6 separate regions of the Homo sapiens genome follow, and all the other regions are linked to region 3. Evidence: promoter capture Hi-C in 16 types of primary human blood cells and fetal thymus (Javierre and others, 2016). All regions are on one chromosome and are shown on one strand. The core of a region is centred on a gene start or on the middle of the fragment in contact, and the rest is flanking DNA. Distances in the headings are between cores, read along the strand shown. Region 1 overlaps EXT2 (exostosin glycosyltransferase 2). Region 2 has its middle 9.4 kb from the start of ALKBH3. Region 3 holds the start of TTC17 (tetratricopeptide repeat domain 17). Region 4 has its middle 8.9 kb from the start of EXT2. Region 5 overlaps ACCSL (1-aminocyclopropane-1-carboxylate synthase homolog (inactive) like). Region 6 overlaps ALKBH3 (alkB homolog 3, alpha-ketoglutarate dependent dioxygenase).

Region 1 (2,752 bases), core at 1-2,500, 750 kb before region 3:
GATGAGCCATCCCCACCAAGCTCTGCATAGATTCCACAATCATCAGCAAATAAATGACTGTTGTTGTTTAAAGCTTCTAAGTTTTGGGGTGGTTTGTTATACAGCTATAGATATATAAAACAGCCAATAAGCATTATTGACTGAGATGTAAAGAAAATTTGTAGTCCTCAGCTAAAAATGTAGAGTTCCCATGTAGACCACATTTTAAGATCCTTACCAAACAAGCCTCTCCTATATGATTCCCGGATACTGTTTCGGGGGAGGGCAGAGCCTTGAGTGTGGCTGCATCATCTGCCACATACTTACCATGTTACTGCAACAAGCTATTTTGGCATCCTGCATGTCAAAATACCAATCCACAAAAAGACAGCTGGGCACAGTGGCTCATGCCTATAATCCCAGCACTTTGGGAGGCCAAGGCAGACAGATCACCTGAGATCAGGAGTTCAAGACCAGCCTAGCCAACATGGTGAAACCCTGTCTCTACTAAAAATACAAAAATTAGCCAGGCATGATGGCAGACACCTGTAATCCCAGCTACTTGGGAGGCTGAGGCAAGACAGTCACTTAAACCTGGGAGGCGGAGGTGCAGTGAACCAAGATTGTGCCACTGCACTCCAGCCTGGGCAATAGAGCACGACTCTTTCTCAAAAAATAAAATAAAATAAAAATAAATAAACAAAATGGTATCATTCTACTCACGGATCTTCCAGGAAAGCTATTAATATAATGGGAAGTAACTGAAAAGCTCATAGACCATCTTAGAGTTATCAACCATTTTTGCTTCGGATAAATGGAGCTCTCCCCATCAGTGCCCACATGGTAAACTGCTTCCTGCCTAGCGAGCTGAGTATTGCCAAGCTTGAATGTTGCAATCACTTTCAGTTTTGGGGGTAAAATATGCTAAATGGTCATGAATCATTTCAAGTCATATCTCTCTAAGACCAGAAACTGGAACATAACAAGGAATTTGCCTATCATTGACTAATACATGAAAATTCATACATTTTGAGCTTAAAAGATTATCATCTTTGGAGTATATACATCAGTCACTCAATATATTCTAATTGTTCTATGACAGAAATGTGGCATGACAGCGATTTCACTTTTTCTATCATTCTAACAGTAAGCAGAATATTCCTGCCTGCTCCCATCCCCTACCAGCTGCAGGCCCACCCTATGGTATGGCTTCCTTGCCATTCTGCATATCCCTCCTGGAGTTTGAAGACAGGAAGTTTTGGGACAAATGCAGGCAAGGAGCTGCCCTCCGCTGGCCCATGTTAGAACTTCCCAAGAAGCTCTCAAGGTCTATGTGTATACTTGAATCAGTGGTTCCCCAACACCTGAAGGGTAAGAAGCACAAGAGTTTGTTAAAACAGATTCCTTGGCCCCACCACTGGAGGCTGTTATCAGTAAGTTTAAAATAGGGCCACAGAATATGTCATTTAAAAACAAGCTCCTCAAGTATTTTGTGCCATCTGGTTTTAAACCTTTATTAATATTAGACAAACTACCCTTTAATAGTGTTTTTCAAAACTTTTTTTAAACTAAAATTGACAGTAAGAAATATATGTTATATTGTGACCCAATATAGACAGATATATATATGTGTGTATATGGATATTTTAAATAAAGCTTCAAAAAACAACATTTAAGCTATGTACTGTGAGTACACAGTGTTAGCCACAGAACACGCAATGAACCCTCCATTTTTCTACTCTGTTATTCTATTGCTTTTTAAAAAATTCTGGCCATAACCTACTAGATCAATTATACCACCCAATAATGGGTCCTCCATAGCTTGAAAAATAGCTTCTATGTATGACAAAATTGAGGTTAAGGGAACAAAAACTGTATTCACACATGAGCTTCACAAATCTTTATGAGTTGCAGATTAACTATAAAAAAGACATATCACAACAAAGTAAAACCAAAGATAACAGAAGAAAATAATAAATAAAAGCACAGAGATTAATTAAAAAACAAAATAGAAATGGTCAACAAGGCTAAAAGTTGTTTGTTTAAAAACAGACTAATAAAATTCTGGTAAGATTAATCAAGAATTCAAGGAAAAAGGTGCAAATAAATACCTGAAAAGGGGAACATAACTCTAAATGCTGCATATATTTAAAAGATAAGATGGTATCAATGAATTTATGCCAGTACATTTGAAAACTCAGATAACATGGAAAAATTATTTTAAAATATACTTACCAAAAGCATCTCAAGGAGAAACAGCAACTCTGAGTAGCTCTATAACATTAAAGACACTGAATCAAAAGTTTAAAAATCTTCCTATAAAGAAAATTCCAGGCCCAGAAAATTTTCCAAGTTCTACCAAATATTCAAGAAATAATAATTCCAATTTTCCACAAATTATTCCAGAGTTCAGAAAAAAAAGAGGAAACACTTCAAAGCTCAGTTTAGGAGGCTAGCAAATGCTTCATACCAAAATCTTAGAACACTGGTTCTTGAAGTATGCTTCAGGCATCCCAGGCCCTTTCAAAGGGCTTATACTAGTTTAATACTGACATTTGCTTTATTCACTTCCATTTTCCAGAGGCTACATGACATATGACACTGCAACAGACTGAATGTAGAAGCCGATGGGATAATCCAACTGTGTTTTTTTAAGTTTTTCCAAAAATGATAAAATACATCAATTCACAGACTCAAGATGCTCAACTCAGAACAGAACATATATATATATAAAGAAAATGCTACCTAGATATATCAAAGCCAAACTGCTAAA
Region 2 (2,945 bases), core at 134-2,633, 510 kb before region 3:
ATAATTGACTATTCCCCTACCTGCTCCTTTTCTCTAGTATCGTGGATCACCAGACCCTCTCTCTTTCCCCTCCAGCACACTTTTCCCCTTTAACTATTAAAGCCCTCAAAATCATCTTTGGAGAAAGGCACAGACCACAGACTTTCTGTTATTCCATGTTCTTTTCTTCCAGATGTGTTCTTAACCTTGGCAAAAATAAACCTCTAAATTGATGGAGACCTGTTTCGGATACTTTTTGGCTTACGCTTGTGTTCTTAGAGTTCTCTTTTTCCCTTTGTCAGTAACCCTCTATTATGGTTAATAATTCTTTCTTTCTTTTCTTCTTTTCTTTTCTGTTCTTCTTTTCTTTTCAACAGAGTCTCGCTCTTTTACCCAGGCTGGCAGGCTGGAGTGTGGTGGTGCAATCTCAGCTCACTGCAACCTCCATCACTTGGGTTCAAGTGATTCTCCTGCCTCAGCCCTCCGAGTAGCTGGGATTACAGATGTGCACCACCACGCCCAGCTAATTTTTTCTTTTATTTTTAGTAGAGACAGGATTTTGCTATGTTGGCCAGGCTGGTCTTGAATTCCTGACCTCAAGTGATCCACCCGCCTCGGCCTCTCATGGTGCTAGGATTATAGGCGTGAGCCACCGCGCCCGACCTATTTCTTTCCTGTCCAGATGATTATGTAGCTTCTGTCTCCTGATTGAGTCCTGATGGTTGCAGTGGGAATGTGGCATCAGGAGTTGAAAGCAAAGGCTAACTGCCTGGGCCCCGGGTTGGCCTCTGTACATCACTGATTTGCCTCTGAGTTGGGTCCTTGCTCTCCTAGCCCATCACTTACGTATTGCTTGCTCCTCCTAGTTTGTCCTCATCCAAGACTGCCTTCCTAAAGTAGATGTTGCTGGTTGCTTTGCTACTTTGAAGCCAGCATTTCTCAGCATGTGGTTGGAAGGGTAACTGCATGAGAATCACTAGGGGATGCTGTAAAAATGCACATTCTGGGAGCCCATCAGGATTCTCAGTTAGTAGGTCTGGGGCAGGGCCCAGCAATGTGCATTTTTTTTTTTTTTTTTGAAACATAGTCTCGCTTCGTCGCCCAGGCTGGAGTGCAGTGGCATGGTCTTGGCTCACTGCAACCTCCGCCTCCTGGGTTCAAGCAATTCTCCTGCCTCAGCCTCCTGGCTGCCACACCTGGCTAATTTTTTGTACTTTAGTAGAGACAGGGTTTCACTGTGTCTTGAACTCCTGACCTCAGGTGATCTGCCCGCCTCAGCCTCCCAAAATGTTAGGATTACAGGCGTGAGCCACCCGCACCTGGCAGTAATTTGCATTTTTAACAATGCTCTGTTCCATTTTGCAGGTACCTGCACCATATTCTGTATCCTTTCCCTATGTCTGTTTTCCAGAGGTGATCACTTCCCACTCAACAGTTATCTCATACCCTGGATGGCAAAGCTGATAGATGCTTTAAGTGCTGGTAGCTCTTAACAGTGATTCTGAGTGAGCTACACCCTGTAGCCTATTTTCAGTTGCCGATTTTCACACCACTCTCTTGCCAAGCGTTCCCTGTTTCAATCATGTGCAGCTTGTGGAGTGCCTGCTGCTGTATTCCTGAGAAAATCCAACCCAAGGAAAATAATGGCACATCATGCTAATAGCTCTCAGTGAAGGTGTTGCATAGAGAAATTCCCAGCCTATGTCTCACTGCCAAAGGTTTAGCAGCTCCCAGCTTGAGCAAGGAGGGTGGGAAGGGAATCTGCCAACCCTGCAGCATGTTTGCTATGAGGCTTTCAGCTCTCTGCCAACTTTCAACAACATTGAAGGGTAGAGGACATTTCCCCAGACTCCAGACAGGAACACCTTCTGTTCAATGCCCAGCACGATTGTAGATGCTGCAGGAGGTAAAATCTCCATCCAGTGAACCACAGGGTAAACTGTGTGAGATACAATTAAAAAACAGTGTAATTGGATGTGAAATTATGGAGGGCAGACAAAAATTTGGGGAACAAGAGATCACTAGAGGTTATAGTCATTAGCAAAGTCACTATGGAGTATAGGGAATTATGTCAAGGTTTTAAATTATGTAGCATTCAGACAGCTTGAAGATATTCTGATAGTTACATTATCCCTAAAAGGAGTAGGCAACATTTACACATTCTTATTTCTAAATAATAGCAAATAATAACATTAGTTAACATTTCATGAGCACTTCTTACATGCCAAGTGCTGTTCCAATCACTTACATGCCTACACTGATCTAATTTTTTTTTTTTTTTTTTTTTTTTTTTTTTTTTTTTTGAGACGGAGTCTCGCTCTGTCGCCCAGGCCGGACTGCGGACTGCAGTGGCGCAATCTCGGCTCACTGCAAGCTCCGCTTCCCGGGTTCACGCCATTCTCCTGCCTCAGCCTCCCGAGTAGCTGGGACTACAGGCGCCCGCCACCGCGCCCGGCTAATTTTTTGTATTTTTAGTAGAGACGGGGTTTCACCTTGTTAGCCAGGATGGTCTCGATCTCCTGACCTCATGATCCACTCGCCTCGGCCTCCCAAAGTGCTGGGATTACAGGCGTGAGCCACCGCGCCCGGCCCACTGATCTAATTTTAAGAACCCAGTTACACAGGCATTATTATTATTAGACCCATTTTACAAAGAAGACTGAACCACAATGCCACATGATGCCACCGTGCCACCTCTCTGCAAATACATGCCAGAATGAAAGCCAAATTAGGAAAGATAGGACTGTTCCTAAAATGACATGAACCATTTCTTGGGACCTCATTGCTGGTGTCTTTCAGTGACTTCAAAAAAGAAGAGTTGGTAGCAGTGTAATCCAGCAGCCCCTGAGTTATTAAGCATTCTTGATGGTTTTATCTAGATGGCTTAGCAGATTCCTCTGTAGAGCTACTGAGTCCTCAGAACCATGGGAATGGCATCATTTTGAGTCTATGAACTATGATGTCAA
Region 3 (2,700 bases), core at 154-2,653:
ATGTATGTCATATAGAAAACGTTACCCAATAGGAACACGGTCTTTTCTTAGATATGCTGAAAACCACTCATGAATACCTAGGCGGATTTTTAGTTATACTTAACTTACTTGAGATAGAATTTGCAATTACATTACACGGCAAATCTAAATCTAAACCTCACCTTAAACGTTGGAATGTGTTCCTATCATGATTCATTACACACAATCCAAAGGACCAGTAATTTCCCACCACACTAGTTAAAACGTTTTAGATCAGTGGGCTAAATTGCATGGGGCACACAATTCACTTTCTAAATGTTTGCTAGACACTTCAAGATTGTCCTCAAGTGTTCGAAGTCAGTAAGTTTACCAATATTCTGTAGCGGAACACACACACGCACTCGTTAGGCATCAGCAGCATTTACAAAACGCAGGCAATCATAAAGTTATATAAGAAAAGCAGTCTCGCCTCTGAGGAATTAGTTCAGGCATACAAGAATCCAGGAAATCGCATATCCTCCATGCGAGGCTGGGTCACAAGAACTAGGTAAAGAAACAAAGCAAAGTGCACTGGGAAACGAGGGCAGTAACAGCTGAAAAGATGCAGGCAACGCCACCAGCGGCATCTTCAAGCATTCCTTCTGAAGGGGAGTGTTTCTATGTTGTTTCTAATGAGCCACTGCTGACCTGAGTAACGGTACAAGCTGAAACCAACACAACCAGAAACGAAATCCACCATGTGGTAGACGAGACTAGGGGAGCAGCACGAATGGTCCACAGGCTAGGGGTCCAGAAGCTGTCATACCATGGGACTCGCGCACACCCTGGAGCTGCCACCTGCTTTCTATTTCCTCGGGGAGGGCCGGTGACGCGTGAACCCGAGAGGCACCAAAGGCAGGAATCCTGAAATCTGTGATTTCTAAACCCCGAGCTAAAAAAAGGTCCGTAGGGCCCGTCTCCCGCAGCTGGGCGACTCTTCCCCACGCGGCGCGCGGCCCGCGAGGTGGAAGGGTGAGAACTTCTAGGGGGCCAAACGAGGACCAGGAGACAAGTGGGGAGCGGGAAGTGCCTGCCTGGTCCGAATGCAGGGAGTCCGAGGTCGCGGTGCCACCTCCCTGTGAGGGTAGGCTGGGGGCGGGGCCGCGCGGAGCCCAACAGCCAGGGGCCAAGCAGGGTAATCCCCCCGGGGCGAGGGCGGGCACGGGAGAAGAGGGACGCCCCGGCCGCTACCTGCTGCTGGATTTTCCCGTCCTCCGTGACGACCCAGTGCGTGGTGGCGAAGGCCCCTCGTGCCGCCACACTCAGCAAGGCGGAAAGGCTGAGGAGCCAGCCTGGGCCGGAGCAAGGCGGCAGCTCGTACCGGCCACGAACCCCTACTGCCGCCGCCATCTTGCCCCCCCGGCCGGGCCGCTCACACCGGAAGCGGAAGCTAGTCTCCGGCGCCCGCCATCTTGAAGAGGTCGGCCCTGGAGGAGGAGCAGGAGGAGGAGCCGAGAGGGCGTAGCTCGCTGACTACCAAGTTTCCTCCACCTCGGTTTTGGCGGCCAGGAAGCGCGACCTTCGGCTACTCTCCCAGCTTGGCTTCAGGGATGGAGACCGCTTTTTAGTTATTGTTTTTCTGTGGGTGATACGATCTCGGAGCGTGGGAACCGGAGGGAGACAAAAGCAGTGGCTTAGGTGGCGCTTAAGCAGAAGTGAAAGGACTCAATTTTATTGTTTTTTAAATCTTTGTTTTTTCGTTTTATTTCTGGTAGATAGTTGGGGAACAAAAGGTGTGCTTTCGAACCACCTATGGGAAGAGAGGTGTTGCTTTTATTCTTAAAGTCTCACAATAGTGGAAGCTTCAGAATGGAGACGGTTGTTAGTTTAGGGCACCGCTGTCCAGTAGCACTATAATGCGAGCCACGTGTGGAATGTAAAATATAGAGGGAAGTAACCCTACTAGTACATTTTATTTAACTCAAAGTACACAAAATATTAATTCAATGTGGTCTGTACAAATCATTGAGATAGTTTAGTTTTTTTTTTTTTAACTAAGTCTTGGAAATCGGCATGTTACACTGACAGCTTATCTAGTCATATTTCAGGGGCTTAATACCCGCATGTGGCTAACGTACTGGTCAGCACAGGTCTAAGCTAGAGGTCTAGGTCTGGAGACCAGAAACATTGGCATCACCTGGGAGCTTTTTAGACCTGCACATTCTCGGCTCTTCTCCCTCTCCCCCGCAACCTGCTGAATCAGACTACATTTTAACAATAGCCTCAGGTGACTGGTATACATATTAAAGTTTGAGAACCACTTTCTTCTAGTGAACCAACAGGCAGGCAGGCAGGCGTCAAGCTTGGCTGCCAGCTTCTTGCTAGATATGTCATTTTAGGTCTTTCAAGATTGCCCTCTGTGTGTGTTATTTAAGGTTGGTATGCTTTTGGTTTTCTCCTTGGGAAAAGAAGGATGAGAATATTGTTTAACCACTTCTCTACACAAGTGTATGCAGGAGAGCAGTTGCTAAGTGTTTAAACACCACGCTATAGAAATGTAGAAACAACCACAGCATTGGTGTTTTTTTTTTCTTCATTCCAGGAACAGCTTTTCTTAAAGGCCTGAAGACTGAACATTCATTTCATTAAAAATATATGGCTTATTTGCTTTTTGCCTGGTACTCTGATAGTCTCTGGGTATGGAAATGTAACCATTGGGCAGTGTGCAATATAGTGAGATAT
Region 4 (2,729 bases), core at 150-2,649, 730 kb before region 3:
GGTCTCGAGCTCCTGACCTCAGGTGATCCACTCACCACAGCCTCCCAAAGTGCTGGGATTACAGACATGAGCCACCATGCCCAGCCTACAATGAGATACTTCTACATACCTTTTTTACCTGATAATACCTAAAAGTTGGCAAGGATGAGGAGCTAATAGAATTTTTATACACTTCTATACATCGGTAGAATCATATTAGGAAACTGGCAGTATTTACTAAAGCTGAGCTTACCCCATTATCTAGCAGGTACATAGTGAAAGGAAATGTGTATGTATGTGTCCCAAAAAGTCATATTCAAGAATGTTCACAGCAGCATTATTCATAATAGTGAAAAGCTATACACCATGGAAATTCTACTTAAAAACATAACCAGGACAGCAATATCTGCCTTGTGATGAAGTCAGGATTAAATGAGAGTGCAAAAGGAAAGCCCACATAGTCATTTACAGTAAGAAAGACCCCCTCTCCCCACCACATACACTGAAAACAAGTAACAATGCTGAAACACAATGTTCAGGCCAGGCGTGATGGCTCAGCCTGTACTCCCAGCACTTTGGTAAGCCGAGGCAAGGGGATCATCTGAGGTCAGCAGTTCATGACCAGCCTGGCCAACATGGTGAAACCCTGTCTCTACTAAAAATAAAAAAATAAAAAAAATAGTGGATCATGAGGTCAGGAGATCAAGACCATCATGGCTAACATGGTGAAACCCCATCTCTACTAAAAAAAAATACAAAATATTAGCCAGGTGTGGTGGCAGGAGCCTGTAGTCCCAGCTACTCGGGGGGCTGAGGCAGGAGAATGGCATGAACCTGGGAGGTGGAGCTTGCAGTGAGCCAAGATCCCGCCACAGCACTCCAGCCTGGGCGACAGAGAGAGACTCTGTCTGAAAAAAAAAAAAATTAGCCGGATGTGGTGGCGGGCACCTGTAGTCCCAGCTACTTGGGAGGCTGAGGATGGAGACTCACTTGAACCCAGGAGACGGAGGTTGCAGTAAGCCAGGATTACACCATTGCACTCCAGCCTGAACAGCAAGAGCAAAACTCCATCTCAAAAAACAAAACAAAACAAAACACAATTTTCATGAGCACATGCATTAGCTGGAACAAAACAAAGGAATGATCAGGCATGGGACTGAGTGACAACTATGATGCTGGCTTTCATCTTGAGGCATTTGCCAAAACAATGATCTCGAGCTTCTATTTTCCCAATCTCCTGGAGGCTGACCAGAGATGAGAAATCTAATAGGAAATTCTTCTCCAATAAAGCCAGGACTCCAAAAAGCTAACTCCACAAAATAAGGCTAAACCAGATTCACATCCTTTCCTCCCTCTTCAGAAGACTGCAAGGAAAGCTGTCTCAAACCTTGGTGTTAAAGGAGGGAAGTTAACCTGAGAAGTTGTAACCAAAAGCTGGCTCTTGCCAGACTAGATTTCCAGGCCAAATTCACAGCAGCTGATGGCAACAACAACAACAAAAAAATCTAAATATTTAGTTTGAAGACTGGCATTGCCTCTAGTTGCCTGGAAGAAATAAACACACAAAAACTCTCTTGAGGAATCTGTCTTTATCTAAGACTTCAAAGAATTCCAACAAATAAATTTCCCCCAAAAATGTACAGCTCACCATAAAAAATCACTAAACTCACAAAGAATCAAGGCATGAGACAGAATAGCAGAAACAAACCAGCAAAGATTTCAGACACTGGAATACTGGAAATAGATACATACAATAATACATACATAGAAAGATGCATAGAGGTATATAAAAATAATTGGCCGGGTATCGTGGTTCCCGCCTGTAATCCCAGCACTTTCGGAGTCTGAGGCAAGTGGACCACTTAAGGCCAGGAGTTTGAGACCAGCCTGGCCAACATGGCAAAACCTCATCTCTACTAAAAATGCCAAAAATTAGCCAGGTGTGGTGGTGCACACCTGTAATCCTACCTACTTTAGAGGCTGAGGCAGGAGAATCGCTTGAACCTGGGAGACAGAGGTTGTACTGAGCTGAGATCATGCCACTGCACTTCACCATTCCAGCCTGGGCAACAGAGTGAGACTCTGTCTCAAAAAATAAACTTATTATTATTATTATGCTTATTACATCTTAAAAAATGAAAAACAAACTTGAGGTATAAAGAATAACTTTTAGAACTTCTACTAATAAAAATATATTTGCTTAAATTTAAAACTCAAATAGATTAAAGCAGATTACATCCAGCTAAAGAAAGAATTATTAAACTGAAAAATAGACCAAAACAAATTACCCTGAATGTAGCACAGAAAGATGAGAAAGAAAATATGAAAAAGAGATTAGGAGACATGAAGACAGAGCAAGTTGATCTATATCATACATTTAATAGGAATTCCAGAGGGAGAGAAGAGGGAGAATGAGGCAGAAGAAATATTTGATGAGAACTTTCCAGAGCTGCTGAAAGAATCCACAGATGCAAGAATCCCAATACCCAAAATAAGATCAGTAAAAAGAAACCATCGAGATATATAATAGTAACACTGTATAACATCAATGATCAGAGTATGTCTTAAAGGCATTGAGACAGAGGAAACAGATCACCTTTGAAGAAGCCACAGACTGACAGCTGACTACTTGACAGGGACAATGGAAGTCAGAAAATAACTATTAACCTGTAATCCTACACCCAGTGAAATTCTTTCAAAAATAGAGCAGGCCAGGTGAGGTAGCTCATGCCCATAATCCCAGCACTTTG
Region 5 (2,851 bases), core at 320-2,819, 700 kb before region 3:
GAAGTTGCTTTAACATTAAGAAATCAATGTAACTTACTACATTGATAATCAAGAGAAAAATCATATCTCTATAAATGCAGATGAAAAACATCTAACAACATTGAACCCTCATACATGGTAAAACTCCCAGCAAACTAGTAATAGAAGGACTCTTTATTAGATAAGGGACAGAATGAAAAATACAGTAACGTTATACTCAAGAGCAGAAGATTGCACTCAATGCTACTAAGACTGAGAACAAGGCAGGCTGTCCTCTCAACCACTTTTATTCAACGTTATACTAGAGGTTTTTTAAAAAGAGCTATATCGGTCAGGAGCGGTGGCTCAGCTTGTAATCCCAGCACTTTGGGAGGCCGAGGCAGGCGGATCACTTGAGGTCAGGCGTTTGAGACAAGCCTGGCCAACATGGTAAAACCCTGTCTCTACTAAAGATATAAAAATTAGCTGGGCGAGGTGGCACGTGCCTGTAGTCCCAGCTGCTTGGGAGGCAGAGGCAGGAGAATCGCTGAACCAGCAGCAGAGGTTGCAGTGAGCCGAGATTGTGACACTGCACTCCAACCTGGGCGACAGAGTGAGACTCAGTCTCACAACAACAACAACAACAACAACAAAAACACACACATACACACACACACACAAGAAAACTGACAAGAATAAACAAATTTGGATTCGGAGCAAGTACGGCCACAAACCCAAGCGACTAAAGCCACCAGTTGGTACTGTGAGCTCTTTCTTCATCCATAAAATCGTAGTAGTCCCTTCTCTGCCCACTTCACAGTATCAGTGCTCTGACATGCAAGGGCTTTGCAGAGAAACTGATGGGTGGCTTAATTTGAACAGCTGAAAACATTAGAAATGGAAATGGACAACCCCAGATGCTACGAACTGAATGTGTCCCCCCAACATTCATATTTGAAATCCTAACCCCCAAGGTGATGGTATTAGAAGGTGAGCCCTTTGAAAAGTGATTGGGTCATGAAGGCAGAGGAAGACCTCTCACCTCTTCTGCCACATGAGATGACACTGGGAAGATGGGACCCTCACCAGATGCCAAATCTCCCAGGGCCTTGAACTCGGCCTTTCCAGCCTCCAGAACTGTGAGAAAGATTTGTTTCTAAGCCATCCACTTTGTGATATTTTCATATTATGAAGGGACTAAGACACCAAGCTTGTCAGATTTTTTTTTCTTTTTTGTAGAGACAGGGTCTTACTCTATAACCAGGCTGGAATGCAGTGGCACGATATGGTTCACTGCAGGCTTGGTCTCCTAGATTTAAGCGAGCCTCCCACCTCAGCCTCCTGAATAGCTGGGACTAGAGGCACACATCACCACACCCAGCTAATTTTATTTTTTGTAGAGACAGGGTCTCGGTTGCTCAGGCTGGTCTCAAACACCTGGCCTCAAGCCATTCTCTGGCCTCAGCCTCCCAAAGTGCTGGGATTACAGGCATGAGCCACCGTACCCAGCAAGAGACTTTAAAAGCCTTTTGGGAAGGTAAAAGTGGAACAAACTCTAGTATTTGGAAGCAGGAATACCTGCAATTATACTCCCACCTGCCTCTTAGCAGGTCATGTGGAAGTGGATGTGATTTCATAAGAATCTTATAGAACATTGCATCCAACACCTGGAAAATGGCCCATCAGTTAAGGATGACTTCTTTCTTTTTCTGGCCTGCTCTAGACAGTATTCTTTACATAGAACCTGCCTTAGAATTTAAAAATTAAGGAGGACAGAAAATCATCTGGCTTCCAAAGATGATTATGAAGAATATAAGCAAGAAAATAAGATGGGCCTAGAATTTAAAAGTATAGAATTTATTAGGTACTGAATATAAAAATAAACCATCTAAATAGGGGCCCAGAGAACTCCCTTTATTTCTCTAGGTGTCTCTAGGCCTTTCCACCCCAACCCCGATAAAAACATTTTGCATATATAATGGCTAGCAAAGACTAAAAAGATGGAAAGCTTCCAAAGACAGCAGGCACTCAGCTTAAGGAGGGTGACAACCGGGTAAGATGAGATCTTCCTGGAGGAGCCCACCATTTTCTCCATCGCAACACTGACAAAAAGACACCCTGGCCTTCTGGGCCAGAGGCTGACATTAGGGGGTCCCTGAGCAAGTGATGGGCTGGAACTGCTGGTTGGGAGGCAGACGGCCTACTCCCTCATTGCATCCTCCAACTGCTTCACTATCAAAGCCTCCTTCTGCTCCTGCAGCACATCACAGAACCGACGCATAGCTAGAGGGTTCAAATGGGGACAGAGAGAAATAGTGATTTAGTAGGTTTGCTGGTGGGTCCCAGACATACCCAGGTCATGGTCAACCATAAAAGCCTCTCATTCAGGGATCCTGAACTTCAGCCCTCCCACCTTTGGGATGGATTTCCAAGTCTACATGTTGCATCCCTGATTTCTTTTTGAATATCATTGTTATGTCAGCCTGCGAGACATCTCAATGTCTTGTATCAAAGCCTGTACTCTCGGGCTTATGGCCTTGGCCTAATCAGGATTTCTATTTGCCTCTAGTGTCTCTTCACTCAGCCTATCTTCTATGCTAGCTCAAAAGAATTCTGTAACAAAAACCTTCATGAGAATGAACAATTCACTGCTATATTCCCAGCAGGTAGAACAGCATCTGGCATGTAGTGGAATGCAATAAATAAATGTTCACATGAATGTCCTATTCTCTATAACCTCAGAGGAGAATCTAAACTCTCTAGTATGGCATACAGGGACTTCCATGGTCATCTGCCTATCCATCTCACTTACTAGGCTGCCAGTCCCACAAGGGCAGAGTACTACTTTTTTCGGGTTTTGTTTGTTTGTTTTTGTTTTCTTGAAACAGTCTCA
Region 6 (2,700 bases), core at 19-2,518, 540 kb before region 3:
CATTCTTAAATGAAACTGGCATTTTTTAAAGTTTACACTGGAAGCGCATGATGATGACGAACACAATGACTACTAGCAGAGTTTGGTGACAATGGCTTGATTCATGCTAAGGTGCTGGCAGCTTTATCCACCATTACCATCAGTGCAAACCCAACACAGTGAAAATACCATACAGACTTAGTATTATTATGAAAATAGTTTTACTTGTAGATTCCCAAAAAAGGTTTCATGAACCCTCTCCAGGGATCTACAGATTATACTCTAAGAACTGTTACTTTAGGGAACTCCTTGAATGTCTATTGCATTAGTCTGTTCTCATGCTGCTAATAAAGACATACCCAAGACTGGGTAATTTACCAACAAAAAGAGGTTCAATGGACTGACAGTTCCACATAGCTGCGGAGGCCTCACAATCAAGGCAGAAGACAAAGGAGGAGCAAAGTCACATCTTACATGGCAGCAGGCAAGAGCGCATGTGCAGGGAACTCCCATTTATAAAACCATCAGATCTCATGAGACTTATTCACTACCATGAGAACAGTAAGGGGGAAAATGCCCCCATGATTCAATTATCTCCACCTGGCCCTGCCCTTGATACACGGGGATTATTACAATTCAAGGTGAGACTTGCGTGGGGACACAGCCAAACCATATCATGTTATATGTTTCGCAGTGAAGAAACAGACGTTCAGCAAAGGAAGGAATATTATTGTTACTATTATTAAGTATATCCCATGGTTGTCAGGTAAAACTGCCAGGGAAGCTTACATAATCACTCAGCTTTACTCTGATGTGAAAACCATGGTTAAAGATGGAATTCCTTGTTGTGGATACTACATTATAATATTATATTCTAAGCAGAGGATTTTAAAAAATAAACAGCAAAAACAACAAATAGTTGGCTAATGGGACACCTGGGGAGACTCAAGAAGCCTCCAGAAGTTGGAAGTTTCTTTATCTCTTGTTCTCCTTTTTTATTGTGGTAGAAAAACACATAACATGAGATCCACACTCATAAAACAAAAATATTAAATAAACCTTTGTTCAAGAGAATAAATTCCAAAGTGAAATTCCAATAATAATGTCAGCAGGCTGTATTTCCTATTTACTTTACAGCTTTAAATTTATCTTCATAGCGATAAAGATCAGATGCTAGAATTACACGCTTAACAAGAAAAACAAGAATGTAAAGGAGGAAGATGGGCTTTTTTCTCCAATGTTACTGGGAATCTAATTAGCACTTCCCTGACTTGCTCAGGGACTGAATACTGAGATAGCATAAAGTTTGTGTTATGTTTCTAAGTAGGTATTTTTTTTCTGGGTTATTTTTGGTACTGAAACAGTGAGAAAAGGAAGAAAAAAGGGGATAATGAACTAGAGGATTAATTTAGACTCTCCAACCAATACTCTATATTCAGATGCCTCAGAACTGAATGTCTAAATTAAAATTCAGCATTATCTCACTGTTCAGTGAAGACATTTTATCCTTAAAAGACATTTTAGGAAAAGAATACAAAAAATATGAATCACAGAAGTGAAAGGACCTATTCAGTGGATTTCAAACAGTGTTGTATAGAGTTCTAGGTACCTCAGAGGTACCTCTGGGTCTACAGGAGAAGAAAGGAGAGGTCAAGTTGGTGGGACTCCCAGCCAGTCAAGGCTCTGATCTGTTTTATACACTGGGCTCATGTGAGATTTAGTTTGAACAAAAACTAAAACAAGTTTAAAAACCCATGACTGAAATTGCTTATTTTGTACGGGATATTAAGCTTCAGGTAATGACAATTTTTAAACTAAACAAGTACTCCCAACATATATATACATACATTAGTGAATCCACCTTTAAAAAATTCTGAGAGGTCGGGGTGTGGCCGATAATCACAACTATTAAAGGAAGCTGAGGCAGGAGGAGCACTTGAGCCCAGGTGTTCAACACCAGCCTGGGCAACATAACAAGACCCTATATCTAAATTTAAAATGAACATAAATAAAAATCTGAGAAAGGGTAGCTCTTTTTTGTTCAAGACAGTATATAAATGAACTAAATATATCACCAATAAAGGCAAAGTTATGAGCCAGCCAAATCTGAATTAAAGAATTCTAATTTGACCACATTATGTTGTCCAGGCTGGTTATGAACTCCTGGCCTCAAGCAATCCTTCCACCTTGACCTCCCAAAGTGTTGGGATTATAGACATGAGCCACCACACCTGGACTATTTTATTGTTACAGAAAAAAAGATTCTCTAGGTATATTTGTCTAAAATAACAAGATTGGAACCAAAACATGGGGTAGAATTATCAAGAATTTTAATATTCTTCCTGTTTATGTGCAGTTTCTAAATTTTCAATAAGCACATACTACCAACATTTAAAAAAAAGGATTGTCATAAATTATTTTGAAGAGTTGTCAAAATGTTCCCAAAATGTCGGACAATAAGAGGCTACTTTACTCAGCAGATCCTGTGTTTATTCCCACTGGTTCTTAACCAGGGGCAATTTTGCCCCCCCAGATGTTTAACAATGTCTTGAGTTGGTTTTGGTTGTCACAGCTGGGTGAGGGGTGCCACTGACATCTAACAGGTGGAGGTCATGCATACTGGTAAACATCCTACAATGCAAGGGATAGACCCACAAGAAAGAATTATCCAGCCCAAAATGGCAATACTACTGAGGTTGAGAAATCTTGTTTTAAAAGATT

Evidence for each region. Contacts are between HindIII fragments. The CHiCAGO score rates a contact against its expected background, and 5 or more counts as called.
Region 1: a contact is called between a fragment that was not itself captured here and the fragment with the promoter of TTC17 in region 3, in 1 of 17 cell types (naive CD8 T cells). The highest score is 5.7, in naive CD8 T cells.
Region 2: a contact is called between a fragment that was not itself captured here and the fragment with the promoter of TTC17 in region 3, in 10 of 17 cell types (monocytes, non-activated CD4 T cells, naive CD4 T cells and 7 more). The highest score is 11.5, in monocytes.
Region 4: a contact is called between a fragment that was not itself captured here and the fragment with the promoter of TTC17 in region 3, in 1 of 17 cell types (monocytes). The highest score is 5.5, in monocytes.
Region 5: a fragment that was not itself captured here is called in contact with the fragment with the promoter of TTC17 in region 3 in 1 of 17 cell types (monocytes); the score reaches 5.4 in monocytes.
Region 6: a fragment that was not itself captured here is called in contact with the fragment with the promoter of TTC17 in region 3 in 8 of 17 cell types (non-activated CD4 T cells, total B cells, naive CD8 T cells and 5 more); the score reaches 10.2 in non-activated CD4 T cells.

The regions. Positions count from the first base shown.
Region 1 is chr11:44,103,208-44,105,959 of GRCh38, reverse strand. The region is part of intron 1 of EXT2 (exostosin glycosyltransferase 2); the gene reads right to left. Among named protein-coding and RNA genes, the nearest start is that of EXT2, 8.9 kb to the right of the region's middle. The HindIII fragment of the contact is 774 bases long and covers 864-1,637 here.
Region 2 is chr11:43,869,920-43,872,864 of GRCh38, reverse strand. No RefSeq gene overlaps it. Among named protein-coding and RNA genes, the nearest start is that of ALKBH3, 9.4 kb to the left of the region's middle. The HindIII fragment of the contact is 5,336 bases long and covers 1-2,945 here.
Region 3 is chr11:43,357,623-43,360,322 of GRCh38, reverse strand. TTC17 (tetratricopeptide repeat domain 17) reads right to left here and starts at 1,403. Exons shown (of 24, transcript NM_018259.6): 1 at 1,210-1,403. The coding sequence starts at 1,368. RefSeq lists a silencer at 1,065-1,144 and an enhancer at 1,275-1,544. The HindIII fragment of the contact is 2,829 bases long and covers 1-1,822 here.
Region 4 is chr11:44,085,417-44,088,145 of GRCh38, reverse strand. No RefSeq gene overlaps it. Among named protein-coding and RNA genes, the nearest start is that of EXT2, 8.9 kb to the left of the region's middle. The HindIII fragment of the contact is 9,778 bases long and covers 1-2,729 here.
Region 5 is chr11:44,059,228-44,062,078 of GRCh38, reverse strand. ACCSL (1-aminocyclopropane-1-carboxylate synthase homolog (inactive) like) reads right to left here. Exons shown (of 14, transcript NM_001031854.2): 14 at 2,102-2,241. The coding sequence ends at 2,159. Among named protein-coding and RNA genes, the nearest start is that of ACCS, 5.6 kb to the left of the region's middle. The HindIII fragment of the contact is 798 bases long and covers 1,171-1,968 here.
Region 6 is chr11:43,893,167-43,895,866 of GRCh38, reverse strand. All of the region lies in intron 7 of ALKBH3 (alkB homolog 3, alpha-ketoglutarate dependent dioxygenase), which reads right to left. Among named protein-coding and RNA genes, the nearest start is that of ALKBH3, 14 kb to the right of the region's middle. The HindIII fragment of the contact is 1,006 bases long and covers 766-1,771 here.